Linked DNA regions of Homo sapiens: region 2 is linked to region 1. The links are contacts of gene promoters, found by promoter capture Hi-C in human tissues and cell types (Jung and others, 2019). All regions are on one chromosome and are shown on one strand. Each heading gives the region's core, a stretch centred on a gene start or on the middle of the fragment in contact. The rest is flanking DNA. Distances are from core to core; before and after follow the strand shown. Region 1 holds the start of B4GALT2 (beta-1,4-galactosyltransferase 2). Region 2 overlaps PTPRF (protein tyrosine phosphatase receptor type F).

Region 1 (6,482 bases), core at 2,774-5,273:
GGGGAATACTGGCCCCCCGCGCGCTCTGCACCCGAGGCTCTGGGGACTTGCGCCTGCGAGGGCCTCTGACTCCGACAAAGGAGACCCGGATTTCCAGCTGCTTGAGGAGGGGTGCGGGCGGGTAGGGGCCGCGAGGGCAGCACTCCCCCGTCCTGCCACTATCGCTGTCTCCCCTCGCTCCCACGTCTCACTGCTGTCCCCCCTTTCTTGCTCCTGACCGGCCCGCTCGGTCACAAGCCGGCTGCTCCGGTTCCTCTTTTCCCAGTCGCTTTGCCCTCCCCCACCCACAGCTTGTTGGGTAAACAGCGGAACGGACTGGGCCGGCGGGATCTGGCTGGAGCGCTTGCTCCCTCGGTCCCGCCTCGGATTCGGGCTTGCGGGTGGCGACCCTGCCTGCGCAGGTGCTTGGTCTGGGAGGTGGTTTTAGCGAGGGAATGGCAGAAAATGGAGGCCTAAGCAGAGGAATCTGTCTACACAGCTGTACTGTCACCTGGGGGCAGCCTGAGGACGCCCCTTCAGGGAGGTGGCCCTTCAGCTCGGCAGCTACTTTAGGTTGAAGAACTTCTCTCTACCGAGCAGCCCGTAACCCCCTTTTTCTCCCTCACTGCTGCAGGAGTCTGCTACACCATTTTTGATTTGGGCTTCCGCTTTGATGTGGCATGGTAAGGGAGGGCAGGGGGAGGATTCCCCTTGAAGCTTCTTCCCTGCAGCCTCTCTTCTTTTCTCTGGTCTGAGTCCCTCCCCCACACCACTGCCTGCCTGGGACATGGACCTTTGGGAAATACGCGGTCAGTTGTTGCCTGTAGAACTGGTGGTGGGGTTGAAGGGGGTTTGAGGGGTTAAGATTTTGTGCTCCGCTTCCCTGCTAGAGCTGAACTGCTTTCTTCTCTGCTTCCACAACAGGTTCCTGACGGAGACTTCGCCCTTCATGTGGTCCAACCTGGGCATTGGCCTAGCTATCTCCCTGTCTGTGGTTGGGGCAGCCTGGTGAGTATTGGGGTGGTGGGACTGGGGGCAGGGGCTGAGTCATGGCAGGTGGTGTCACTGGGGTCTTAGGCATGCTGAGGGCAGTGACAGCTTGGGCTCTGCTCATCAGTTTTTTATCCTTCCACCAGGGGCATCTATATTACCGGCTCCTCCATCATTGGTGGAGGAGTGAAGGCCCCCAGGATCAAGACCAAGAACCTGGTCAGGTAAGTGTCAGGGTCCTTGGACTTTTGTCAGAACCAGCTGTGTTGGCGCTGCCTGTGTGTTTGATCTGACATACTGTTTCTGACAAGCCACCTTGTGGGATGGGATGTTATAGGGGAAAGATTGCTGGGGACTTACTGGGCAGGAAGGACGGTTTCTTTCTCATTTCTTTCTCCTTTCCACTCCTTACCCCTAATCTCTACCACTACCAGCATCATCTTCTGTGAGGCTGTGGCCATCTACGGCATCATCATGGCAATTGTCATTAGCAACATGGCTGAGGTATGGAAGGCCAGGGTGGTGGCGGGAATCCATTCCAGTGTGTTCTACACATTCCTTAGAGATTGGATGGGGTGCATCAGGATGGTTTCTGATTACTTTTCTTCTTCCCTCAGCCTTTCAGTGCCACAGACCCCAAGGCCATCGGCCATCGGAACTACCATGCAGGTGGGTGGATGGGCGTATGAATGCAAAATGCTGGGACTTCATGCCTGCTTCCACTCTCCCCCATCCCAGCTTGGGCCATCATTTTGATATTCTCTCACCTACTTTTTCTGCTTTGCAGAGTGGGGATGGTGATTGGCCCCATTAGCCCATATCTCCCCCATTCCTGGCTTAGCCTCACTGCACCCCTCTCTATCCTCCCAGGCTACTCCATGTTTGGGGCTGGCCTCACCGTAGGCCTGTCTAACCTCTTCTGTGGAGTCTGCGTGGGCATCGTGGGCAGTGGGGCTGCCCTGGCCGATGCTCAGAACCCCAGCCTCTTTGTAAAGATTCTCATCGTGGAGATCTTTGGCAGCGCCATTGGCCTCTTTGGGGTCATCGTCGCAATTCTTCAGGTGATGAATCCCCTTGGGAAGCCTCTGTGTCCTTGTCCCCAACCTAGCCTTACCCTCCTTCTGGAGAAGCTGAAGTGCTCTCCTTCTCTACCTATAACTATAGATTCCCCCAAACAGCTTCCACCTCCTCATTTCCATCTTCTGGTTTTCTCCTACAGGGGCTCTCTATTTTTGTCTCTGATTTGGTGTCACTGACAACAGCCCTGTTCTTTTTCCCCCCTTTCTAATGCGTTGTATCTGTATAGCACTTAGTCCTCCCTCTTTCTGTTCTCTCATTTTATCTGCCATGCTTTTCATGTCTCCAGTCTGTATTTGTGATCTAGACTAGAATGGAATTTTGTCTGTCTATATCAGTCTGTCATGGTGTGTTTGACTGTCTCTCGGAGCTATGTGTATCTCCCTCTCACATGCCTGTCAGTAGGACACCATTGTCTAAATTGTGTGTGTCTAGTCTGTCTGACAGTGTGTGAGTTTGTGACTAAGGATCAGCCTGAGGGTCTGAGTGTGACTGTGGGTGCTTGACTGAGTTGATTCTTAGTGACTAGCTTTATCCATATGCCACTTCTCTCCGTCTGTCCCACAGCGTAACTCTGTGGTTGTCTGTCCCTGTCTGCCTTGTCTGTCACAGTGTGTCCATCCTGGTTAGTCATATATCTCTTGTGGTCTGTCCATCCAACCATGTGCTAGATGTCATCTTCTATCATTTGTCACTGCCTTACCTATTCCTCTGTCCCTGCCTGATTTCTCCTGTTCTTTTTTTGCAGACCTCCAGAGTGAAGATGGGTGACTAGATGATATGTGTGGGTGGGGCCGTGCCTCACTTTTATTTATTGCTGGTTTTCCTGGGACAGCTGGAGCTGTGTCCCTTAGCCTTTCAGAGGCTTGGTGTTCAGGGCCCTCCCTGCACTCCCCTCTTGCTGCGTGTTGATTTGGAGGCACTGCAGTCCAGGCCGAGTCCTCAGTGCGGGGAGCAGGCTGCTGCTGCTGACTCTGTGCAGCTGCGCACCTGTGTCCCCCACCTCCACCCTCAACCCATCTTCCTAGTGTTTGTGAAATAAACTTGGTATTTGTCTGGGTCAGTGCAGCTTCTGTTGCCCTCTTGCGTCACCGTTCACAGAGGAAGGGTAAAGAGGCCTGTACGCCTCAGCCTCATGCCAATCCCTTGTCAGCTTTCTGACTGCACACTTCTGATCTGCACAGAGCTTGCTCCTAGGTGGGGAGGCACGGGTGCTGGGTGGACTCTAACCCCCAAACAGACTTGTTTGGGGATGAGGGAGTGTGCAGATAGGGGCCCCTGGGTGTGTTTGTGCCTGTAGTCCTTCTAGGCCCGTTTGCTCAGGGCTCTGACTGACCACCATGCCCGAATTGTCTGACAGCATCTACTTACCTGGTTGTACAGTCGGGCACCATCATCTCCGTCCTTGTGAGGCCTGGAGCCTAGGCAGTGGTCTCTGCCTCCAGTGATGGTCCTGTCCTTCTAGCAGCAGCCCCTCCCAGAAACCTCTACTCTGATCCTTGTTCCCAGGGCCCAGGGCAGCTCCTCCCACCCCATCCAATCTCGTTTTCTCCTTCCCTGACCCTGTTTCCTGTTACCCCAGAAGCCCCAGCCACCTCCAGCCCACGCCTTTAAGGGTCCTGCCCCCTCTCTGCTGGCCGACCTTGAATCTTGGTCCAATTAAAGAGTTGACAAATCCCTAGCCCCGCAGCCTGAGTCCGCCCAACCTCCAGGTCCCCTTCCTGGGGAGTTCGCGCTCCAATGCAATCCCCACTCCCCGCTAAGGGACTCCACGGTCTGCACCCGCTCGCCGGTCCGACCTCTAAGCCCACCCTTTGGACGAGCCTGACCCATTTCCTCCCGCGCTCCCAGGTCCGTGCCTCCTGGGTGCCCGGGTTCGGCCGCCGGCAGGGCGGGCTCGCAGCGGCGCGCGGCGGGTGCGGGCGTGCTGGAGGCGGGGGCCGCGGGGGCGCGCGCGCGGGCGCGCGGGCCGGGCCTGCCCCTCCGAGGCGCCGTAGCGCGGGAGGGAGGCGGCGGCGCTGTGGTCCGTGGGTCCGCCGGTCCGTGGGTCTGCCCGGCCGCCCGGCCCCGCCCTGCCCCCCGGGGCGGCTCGGCTCCATGGCCCGCGGCGGCGGCGGCGGCGGCGGCGGCGGGAGGCGACCCGGGGGCCGCGGTGGCCGCTGACCGGGCGGCGGGAGGCGGCGGGGCCGGGCCATGGGGGACGGAACCGTCCGCAGCCGCCGGAGCCGGGAGCCCTGCCCAAGTCGGAGCGGCGTCCCCTGCTGAGCCCCGAGCGCCGGGTGAGAGGAGGGCGCGCGCGGCCCCCACCCAGGGCCCCGAGATTCCAGACCCAGCCCCGCGAGGGGCACCCCGAGCGCGGCCCCGAGATCCCAACCCAGGAGCCGGTGAGAGAGGCGCCGGCGGCCAGACCCCGGCCTGGCTGCCCCCACCCCGCCCCCACTCCGGCGCCCCTCCTGGGCTTCTCCGCCCGCGTCCAGCCGGCCTCCCTCATTGTCCTCGCTCGCCCCGGCCTCGTGGCGCGGGGAGGCGTTCCATACACGTTTCCCCTTGGCCTTTGCCTCATCCGCTGCCCTCCACCCACTCCCCCTGCCCCCAGGCTCCACACCCACCCGGTCTGTGCGGCCTGCCCGTCCGCGGGTGCCACGTGTTCAGCCTGCCAGCCCCGCCCAAACGCACCCCTCAGCCTGGCCGCCAGCCTGACCCAGAACCCCTGCGCCGGAGGGAGGGTGGGAATGTCTGCACGTGGGTCTGGGTGTGAGCTGTCTGAGAGTCTGGATGTATGGCTGTGGAAGTCCAGGAGCAGTGGCCTTGTTTGTGAGTGTGGGACTTAGTGTGTTACTGTCACCCGGGTGTGTCTGTGACTGTAGTTCTCTGTGTGTCTGAGTGTGGGTGACCAGCTGGGACCAGGGTGTCCCTGTGATTCTGTGTGCCTGTGAGACTCACCCTGCTCCCTGAAGCACTGCCAGAAGTGGCTGCCGCTCTCTTGGAACCACAGCTGGAGCCATCGCCCAGGCAAGACCCCCTTCCTGCCATGCCCAGTGCTGTGCCCATCTCCAGGCCCAAGCATCCCGTTCCGGGAATCAGAACCAGCTGTGCTGGGCAGGACCCAGAGTCTTGGTCCCAGTCCCAAGGGGCTGGCTTTGAGGTCTTAAGTGAGGGGTGTCCCCTGCCTTGCCCCGTATTTTGACGTTTTGCTCCAGTGGGAAGGGATTCTGTAAACATCCAGTCTGTATTTGGGCCCCCCGGATGCTGAGGGCAACTTCCCAGCCTGGTCCCAGTTGGCCTGGCCTGCTTGTCGCTGGGATCTGAATGACCAAACCACTTCCCACCATGGCTCCTGGAAGGACTAAATGAAGTCATGAGTATAAAGTGCTCCTGCATGGTAGGTGCACAGTATTCCGTCTCTTCCCTCTTCCCCAAGCCATGAGTTCTGGGTTAAGGATGCTGCCATGTGAGGTGTCTGTTCTCAGGGGCACAGGGGCACATGGGGGTCTATAGGTAAACATGTCTCCATGCTTAGGTACAAACCAGTGTGGTTAGAGTTCACGTGTCTGTGTTCCTGGGAATGCGTGAGTGTGTGTGTAGAGTTGTGCAATAAGGGTGAGTGCCTGAGTGTGTGTGTCAGTGAGGTGGAGGAAGGTAAATGTATGTGGCTTAGTAGTGGGGTGTGCTTGAGGATGTGAGTACTGAGTTGCCGGGAACTGTGCCTGGGTGTCTGTTTGGAGGTAAATTCTTGAGTCTGTGAGTGTGAAAGGGTATGAGCAGGTCAGTGTGAGGTGTGGCCCACGAGTGTGAGCAGCTGAGTGGGAGGTAGGTGGGCAGCCTTGCCTGTCCTGCCCTGACCTGCTGGATCTGTTTCCCTCCCACCCTGCTCAGGCCAGCAGCCGGATGCCCGGGCCCACTGGGCGGGCCAGTGGCCGCCTGCGGGATGAGCAGACTGCTGGGGGGGACGCTGGAGCGCGTCTGCAAGGCTGTGCTCCTTCTCTGCCTGCTGCACTTCCTCGTGGCCGTCATCCTCTACTTTGACGTCTACGCCCAGCACCTGGCCTTCTTCAGCCGCTTCAGTGCCCGAGGCCCTGCCCATGCCCTCCACCCAGCTGCTAGCAGCAGCAGCAGCAGCAGCAACTGCTCCCGGCCCAACGCCACCGCCTCTAGCTCCGGGCTCCCTGAGGTCCCCAGTGCCCTGCCCGGTCCCACGGCTCCCACGCTGCCACCCTGTCCTGACTCGCCACCTGGTCTTGGTGAGCCTGGAGGGTAGGGCCTGCCTGTGGGGAAACAGGGTTTTATTGGTTTGACTAGAGAAATGGCATCTGGACCCAGGGGTGTGCCAGGGGTCCAGGTCTGTTGTAAGAGGGCTATTCTTGGGGTTCCCTAGCCCACCCCCAGGCTGAGGGTGGGGGCTGGTATCTGTGGATTCTGGCCAATGCCCTGATTCC
Region 2 (6,122 bases), core at 2,463-4,962, 390 kb before region 1:
GTCCTGCAGTGTGTACCCTGTCCTTGAGGCCCTCAGGTCCCCCACCAGGGCTTAATGGGGCAGTCAGCCCTGGTCTGCCTCAGGGAGCTTGGTGTCCATGGCGCAGGGTGAGTAGCGTCATCTTGGCACCCTGAGGAAGTCTCCCATAAGGTTGTCTTTTCCTTCTCCAGCCAGATCCAAATTAAGATCCTCCTACCTGCCCCAGGCCCCTCTGCCCAAGCTTCCCAGCTAGCTCCCGTGTCTGTTTGAGGGTGGAATTTAGCCCACCAGCCAGCTAACTGACATTCCTTAGCTTGATGCTTTGCATTCAGACTCAAGTTGCTTCTACCTGGAGTAACTGAACGGTCAGCTGCAACTTAGCAGGATCCATATGGGAGCCTGGAAGTGGCCCCTGACTCAGCCACAGGTTAGGAAGGGTTTCCTGGAGACTGTCCTTGAGCCCATTCCAGAGCAGGTCTGTTTGGGGCTTGGTTTTCCGCCCCACCCTTGGAGCCAGACCCCCACCACTGATGCTGGGGTTGGCAGCAGGGGCTAGTGGTCATTCATGTATCACATGGTCTGTGTGGTCAGAGGAGACTCACCTGTCCATTGGGTTTTGGGGGTTCAGGATAGCAGTGTAGGACAGGCTGAGCCTCAGGGAGCAAACCCAGGCCATCCTCGTTCCCTCTGCCACATCCTCCGTGGCTTGAGTTTCCTCTGTGAGGGTGAGGGAGCCGGTCGAGAGGAGGGCTATAGCCTAGGCTCAGATATCAGCCCTGAGCATCCATCCATATGCACAGCTGAGCACTGGGGCATTTCTGTTACACCATTTTGCTGACCGGGCAGATCTGCGAGGGCGTCCAGAAAACAGTCATCAGCAGAGACAGCCCAGCCCAGAGTGGCTCCTTCCATGCCCCTTCCTCTACCCTCCTGGTCCCTCGTCCCCTCCCTTCCCCCACCCCACCCTATGGTCCCACCAAAAATAAGCACATGGACAAATATTTAGCGGGAAGGCAGACATGAGTTTCTAAATATTCCAGGGGGATTTGCCGGGCTGGTAATTTGTTTGGTGCTGATAATTGCATCTTACATTTTTCCAGCTTTACTTAAAACTGTGTGCCGGGTTTGCCGGCATTTAATTACTGCTCTGCGGCAGCCACAAGGTTATTTATTAAAGAGTTATTTTATCTTGATACAGTGGATCCTGCCCCTCATCCCCTCCTTAATGTTGTGTTATTTTCATCAGAGAAATTTCTCTGAGTGAATGCAGATTGCGGGGCTGCCTCCCCCTGCGATTAGGCTGTCACTCTACTGAATGCTGATGCCTCTGGGCGCCGCACCGCCCTATTATAGGGGGTTGTCAGCGCAAATAATTAGACTTAAAAGTTACAGCTGAAATATAATCCAGAAATGGCAGGGCCCTGTTTTGGAAATTGTCTATAAAATGTCAGCACTAAGGATGCACAGGGAACGGTAATATACTGGCATTGTTGGAGCCTAAGATTAGACCCTGAGTGCATTTTTCCCAGCTCCAGTTTTTCTTTCCCTGCTGTTGCTTCTGTCAATAGACTGTCCAGGGTGAGGCCTGTTCCTTTTTGGAGGCCCTGTGCCTGCAGCAGTGGGTGGAGGATGGTTGGGGCTGCTGCAGTGAGATGCCAGCCACTCCAGCTGTTGGCATGGGGGTGGCTGTCTGGGCAGGTCTAGGATGCGGGTCCCTGTTGGCACTTGGAATACAAGGAGGTTGTCCCTTGCCTGTTTCCCCCACCCTTCCTCTGTAGACATACCCTGACCTCCCTCACATGGAAAATGTCTCAGTCTCAGTAACGTTTCTGCGTGGCTGAAGCCCAGTGTCCTTGTGAGAGTGAAGGTGGTGTGCCCAGGAGCCTCTGGACCTGAGGCCCTTGCTTGGTGTTGCAGGTGACCCTAAAGGCCACTGTTGACCTCTCACACTTATGCCTAGCCCCTAGAGCTCTCCCTGCCCCCTGCATCTAGGAGGGAAAAAATAAACACAACTCTTCTGTGAAGCGCCTCAATTTCCTGACAGCCGCAGGAGTTGGAGGCTTTAGAAGACGTGGCTCAGGGCGTTGGCCTGACCTCCAGGGCTGATCCATGAAGTCCGCCTTTTGGCCTGAAGACCCTGTCCTCCAGGGACAATTTGGGGGTAAAGTCCAGTCAAGTTTCTAGGTTGGTGCCCAAGGTTTATTGGCCAAGGACCTACTTCCTTCTGCTGGGGCTCTTTGTCCTGGTATCCAACGACGTGATTAGGCCCCATGATTCCACCACCGACTGGGGTCAAGCCTGCAATCATGACCTCTCCCTGGCACAGGCTGTCTAAACCCATCCTTACGCCCGCTGGAGCAGCGTCCTCTCCTGCCAGCCTCTGCTAATTCTGATGCTTCTCCCCAGAGCCTTCTGGGTCTTTTTTCAGGCCTGTCAGCTAGGGCTCGAAAGGGTGACAGTTTTTCATCACACAGACCTACTCCTACTACGTATATAAACTTGGTCATGTGGCTTGGTTTTAAAACAGTTCCCTTGACTGTAATTGGCAGGTGATAGCATCTACAGCATGGAAACCTGCACCTAGTAGGTGCTTAAGCATAGCTTCCCTTCCCATGAAGAGGAGGAGACAGGGCACCCACTGGCCGAGAGGACAGGAGAGATTTAGTTCATTAAGGCTGCTCCTCTGTGCTGCCCCCACCCCGCTTCTGTGGCAGGCCTGGACCTGATCTGCAAACAGACTTGCCTGCCTGTGCCTGTCCCTGAGGCCCATCTCCAGAGCAGAGGGAGGGCATGCACCGCTGGGCTGGGTGGTGGTCCTGGCTGAGCCTCCTGCTCTCACCTTGGACCATTTGAGGTGCGTGCTCAGAGAGTCCTTTGTTGCCATGAGACACTTGCCAGCCATGCCCCGGGATCCACCTGTTCTGCCACAAGAACTGTGTCTGTGACATGCTGTCATCATTGGTAGAGACTCCTGGCACTAGAACAGATGACAGAAACCCACTTATACCAGCGTAAGCAAAACAAGGAAGTCCTGTGTTACAAATCTGAAAAGTGTAGTAGATTTGGTGCTGGGCAGGGCTAGATCCAGGTACTTAAACAGGTTGGCCAGTCATTTGTCTGTCTGTTTCTGAGCTCTCCTCTCCTCTGTCGACATCTTTGTTCTCAAGCAGCTTTTCCTGTGTGTTGGGAGAAGCCATCCCCAGCTGCTCTAAGCTTAGCTACCTCAGTAGAGAGAGAAGGTCGCTTTTCTAATAGTTTCTGCGGAAGTCCAAAGGCTGTTTCTCCATAGTCAGATCTGGGTCACACACCCCATGTATGAAGAATGCAGGTAGAAGTGGTTTCCTTAAAGACAATGGGAATGCTCATTGATTTGAGGAGAAAGCAGAACCCTGAATGTCTACAAGATACTCTCATGCCCTAGGTGAACCTGGGGACACAGATCCAGCCCACCAGCACCTGTCAGGCCTGGTCTCTGGGGCTGCCAGGGTTTGGGTTCTGTCTGGAGCACCAGAGTAAGGCAGGCTGTGGAAGGAGTTGAAGCAAGTGCTAAATTAGGTAGGGTCTCTTGGGCTGGGCAGAGGAGTCACTGGGAGCCATGCAGGAGCTTGTTAAACAGGGAGTGGCATCAGATTTGTGCCAGCTGTTTGTGGAGGGCCCGTGAGCAGGAATTGGGGCAGTGGACAACAAGGCAGGAGGACTGACGCAGAACACATTGCAGCAACTCAGGGAAGGATGATGATGGCTTGGACTTTGGTGGTGGCAGTTGCCTGTGTGTATGGAGAGAAATACATGGATTTGGAAGATATGTTATGCCACGCTGTTGACAGGACCTGGTGACTTGCTGAATGTCTGATCTCTGGGTCTAAGTTTTGACCCCTGTATGGTGAGGTCAGACGTTGGACCGGGAGGTCTCTGAAGTTGCTTCTAGCTCTAGTTCTGTGATTTGGGGCTGTGTGAGCAGCATAGTCTGGTGCTTATAGTGGAGATGCTCCTTATGTGGTGCTGTGGGGTCTTTGCATGCCTGGGCCCCCCAGCGAGGGTCCTCAGAGACCAGTGCTCTCAGCAGTGCTCTTGGGTACTGACTAGCCTGCTGCCTGCCGCCTTTGGCCCTGCGTGTGAGAGTGCCCGTGTAGGACACACCCTGGCCTCTGCTCACCAGCTGCATGGCCCATCTGCATGCCAGACATGCCTGCCCACGGCTGGGTTTCATCACCTCCCTTCCCTCTGCATGCTCCTGTGTCTGTGTCAAGCTTCCAACTTCGGGGGCGGGTGGTTCTAGGCTGTACCCTGGACTGAGAAGCTCAGAACAGCTTCTGGTCAGGGGAGTCCAAGGCTGGAGGTCGTGGCCAGGCACAGCCACAGCCACCCCTCCCCTTGAGACCCTTGTTTGTTGGCGCAGGAAGCCGTCTGTTCGGCGCCCTCATCATGTTACTGCCATCGTCATGCCCATCCTGCCCGCAGACCATGTCCCTGGCCTGCCCTGACCCCTGCCCCTCCCCAGTCCTCCTGAGGGCAGCCCTTTTGCTTGGGTTCCCAGGTTGTGCCCTGAGCATGGCTGAGACCCTGGCAGGCGGCCCTGCTGCTTGCCTTATTTCTTCCCCTCAGGCCATGGCCTGGAGGTGGAGGCAGTGACTCCACGGCAGGTGGCTGTGTCCCTCTGGACTGGCCTTCTGCTCTGCCCAGCCATGCTCTGAGGACCCTCCACCCTAGGGCCTGCTTTCTCTCCTTGGTGCTCCAGCCAGGAGCAGGCAGAGATAGGCCCTGGAGAACACCCTGGGTTGTGGTCCTGACCAGGCCTGGACCTTGTACTGAGTCCCTGTGTGACCCTGGGCAGACAGGACCTTCCTGACAGGCCTCAGTTTCCTAGGCTATAAAATGGGAGCTTGGTTGCAAGATCTCTCATTGAGTAAGTCATCGTGCTCCAGACAGTCCCTGAGTGTGGGGGCCACTTCTAGGCTGGAAGTGGGTGGGGTGGGAGTGGATGATGAGCTGGGGTCTGGCGGTGCCACCCCTCCTGTCTCTGAGCATGGGTTTGGCTCTGACCAGAGGGGCTTCCTGAATGAGGGGCCCCTGCCCTTCCATGCAGTCGTGTGTCCTGCCCGGCCTGTGAGTGCCTCTCTCCCTCCTCCTGCAGTGCGCCGCGTGGCTCCTCGTTTCTCCATCCCTCCCAGCAGCCAGGAGGTGATGCCAGGCGGCAGCGTGAACCTGACATGCGTGGCAGTGGGTGCACCCATGCCCTACGTGAAGTGGATGATGGGGGCCGAGGAGCTCACCAAGGAGGATGAGATGCCAGTTGGCCGCAACGTCCTGGAGCTCAGCAATGTCGTACGCTCTGCCAACTACACCTGTGTGGCCATCTCCTCGCTGGGCATGATCGAGGCCACAGCCCAGGTCACAGTGAAAGGTGAGTGTGGCAGGTGCTGTAACCAGTGCCCTCCCTGTCATCTGGGAGGTCCTGGTGGTGGGCGAATGTGAGCTGGCTGCCATGGGCACAGGCATGGCTGAGGGATTCTTGCCCTTTCCTGGGTGTCCCTGCCCTGGGGTCCTCCAGCCCTTAGAGGGAGGGAGGGATTTCTGTTATTAGCCGGCTTAATGATAATAGTTAAGGCATATTGAGTTTCTTGGTGGGAGACATCATGCTAGCAAGCACAGTTGATTTTGTTTTTTTCTGTTTTACCCTGGGAGATAGGTGCTCTTATTATTTCCATTTTTGAAACGAGGGAACCGAGGCACAGAGAGGGTGTATCACTTGCCCCAGGGTCACATAAAAATAAATGACAGAGCAGGGACTTAAACCCAGTGTGGTCTGAATCCATATCTCACCCTCACCACTACATAGTACCAGACCTTCAGGTTTAATAGCCTCCCAGCAAGAAGGGTGTGGTAAAATAGTAGGGGAAAGTGTGTTCTCTCTGCCCTGATACCTGGGGACAGGCACACATGTATTACACATATGTCACATATATGTAACCGATTCTGGCCAGGCACGGTGGCTCATTCCTGTAAGCCTAGCGCTTTGGGAGGCCAAGTTGGAAGGATTGCTTGAGCTCAGGAGTTTGAGACCAGCCCAGTTAACGTAGTGAGACCCCCATCTCTACGAAAAAAAAAAAAAAAAAAAAACTGGGCATGGTGGCACACACCTG

The links. Contacts are between HindIII fragments. The study calls those that stand out against the background at their distance.
Region 2: a fragment that was not itself captured here is called in contact with the fragment with the promoter of B4GALT2 in region 1 in 1 of the 25 tissues and cell types used here (H1 embryonic stem cells).

What each region holds. Positions count from the first base shown.
Region 1 is chr1:43,975,187-43,981,668 of GRCh38, forward strand. B4GALT2 (beta-1,4-galactosyltransferase 2) reads left to right here and starts at 4,024. Exons shown (of 7, transcript NM_003780.5): 1 at 4,024-4,325; 2 at 5,923-6,287. The coding sequence starts at 5,975. It overlaps ATP6V0B (ATPase H+ transporting V0 subunit b), which reads left to right. Exons shown (of 8, transcript NM_004047.5): 2 at 614-662; 3 at 904-987; 4 at 1,116-1,193; 5 at 1,404-1,473; 6 at 1,587-1,638; 7 at 1,840-2,030; 8 at 2,795-3,109. The coding sequence ends at 2,821. RefSeq lists enhancers at 1-593, 2,726-3,317, 3,318-3,908, 3,909-4,500 and silencers at 263-312, 3,918-4,017, 4,288-4,397. The HindIII fragment of the contact is 8,245 bases long and covers 1-6,482 here.
Region 2 is chr1:43,583,618-43,589,739 of GRCh38, forward strand. It overlaps PTPRF (protein tyrosine phosphatase receptor type F), which reads left to right. Exons shown (of 34, transcript NM_002840.5): 8 at 5,114-5,383. Among named protein-coding and RNA genes, the nearest start is that of PTPRF, 56 kb to the left of the region's middle. The HindIII fragment of the contact is 4,012 bases long and covers 1,707-5,718 here.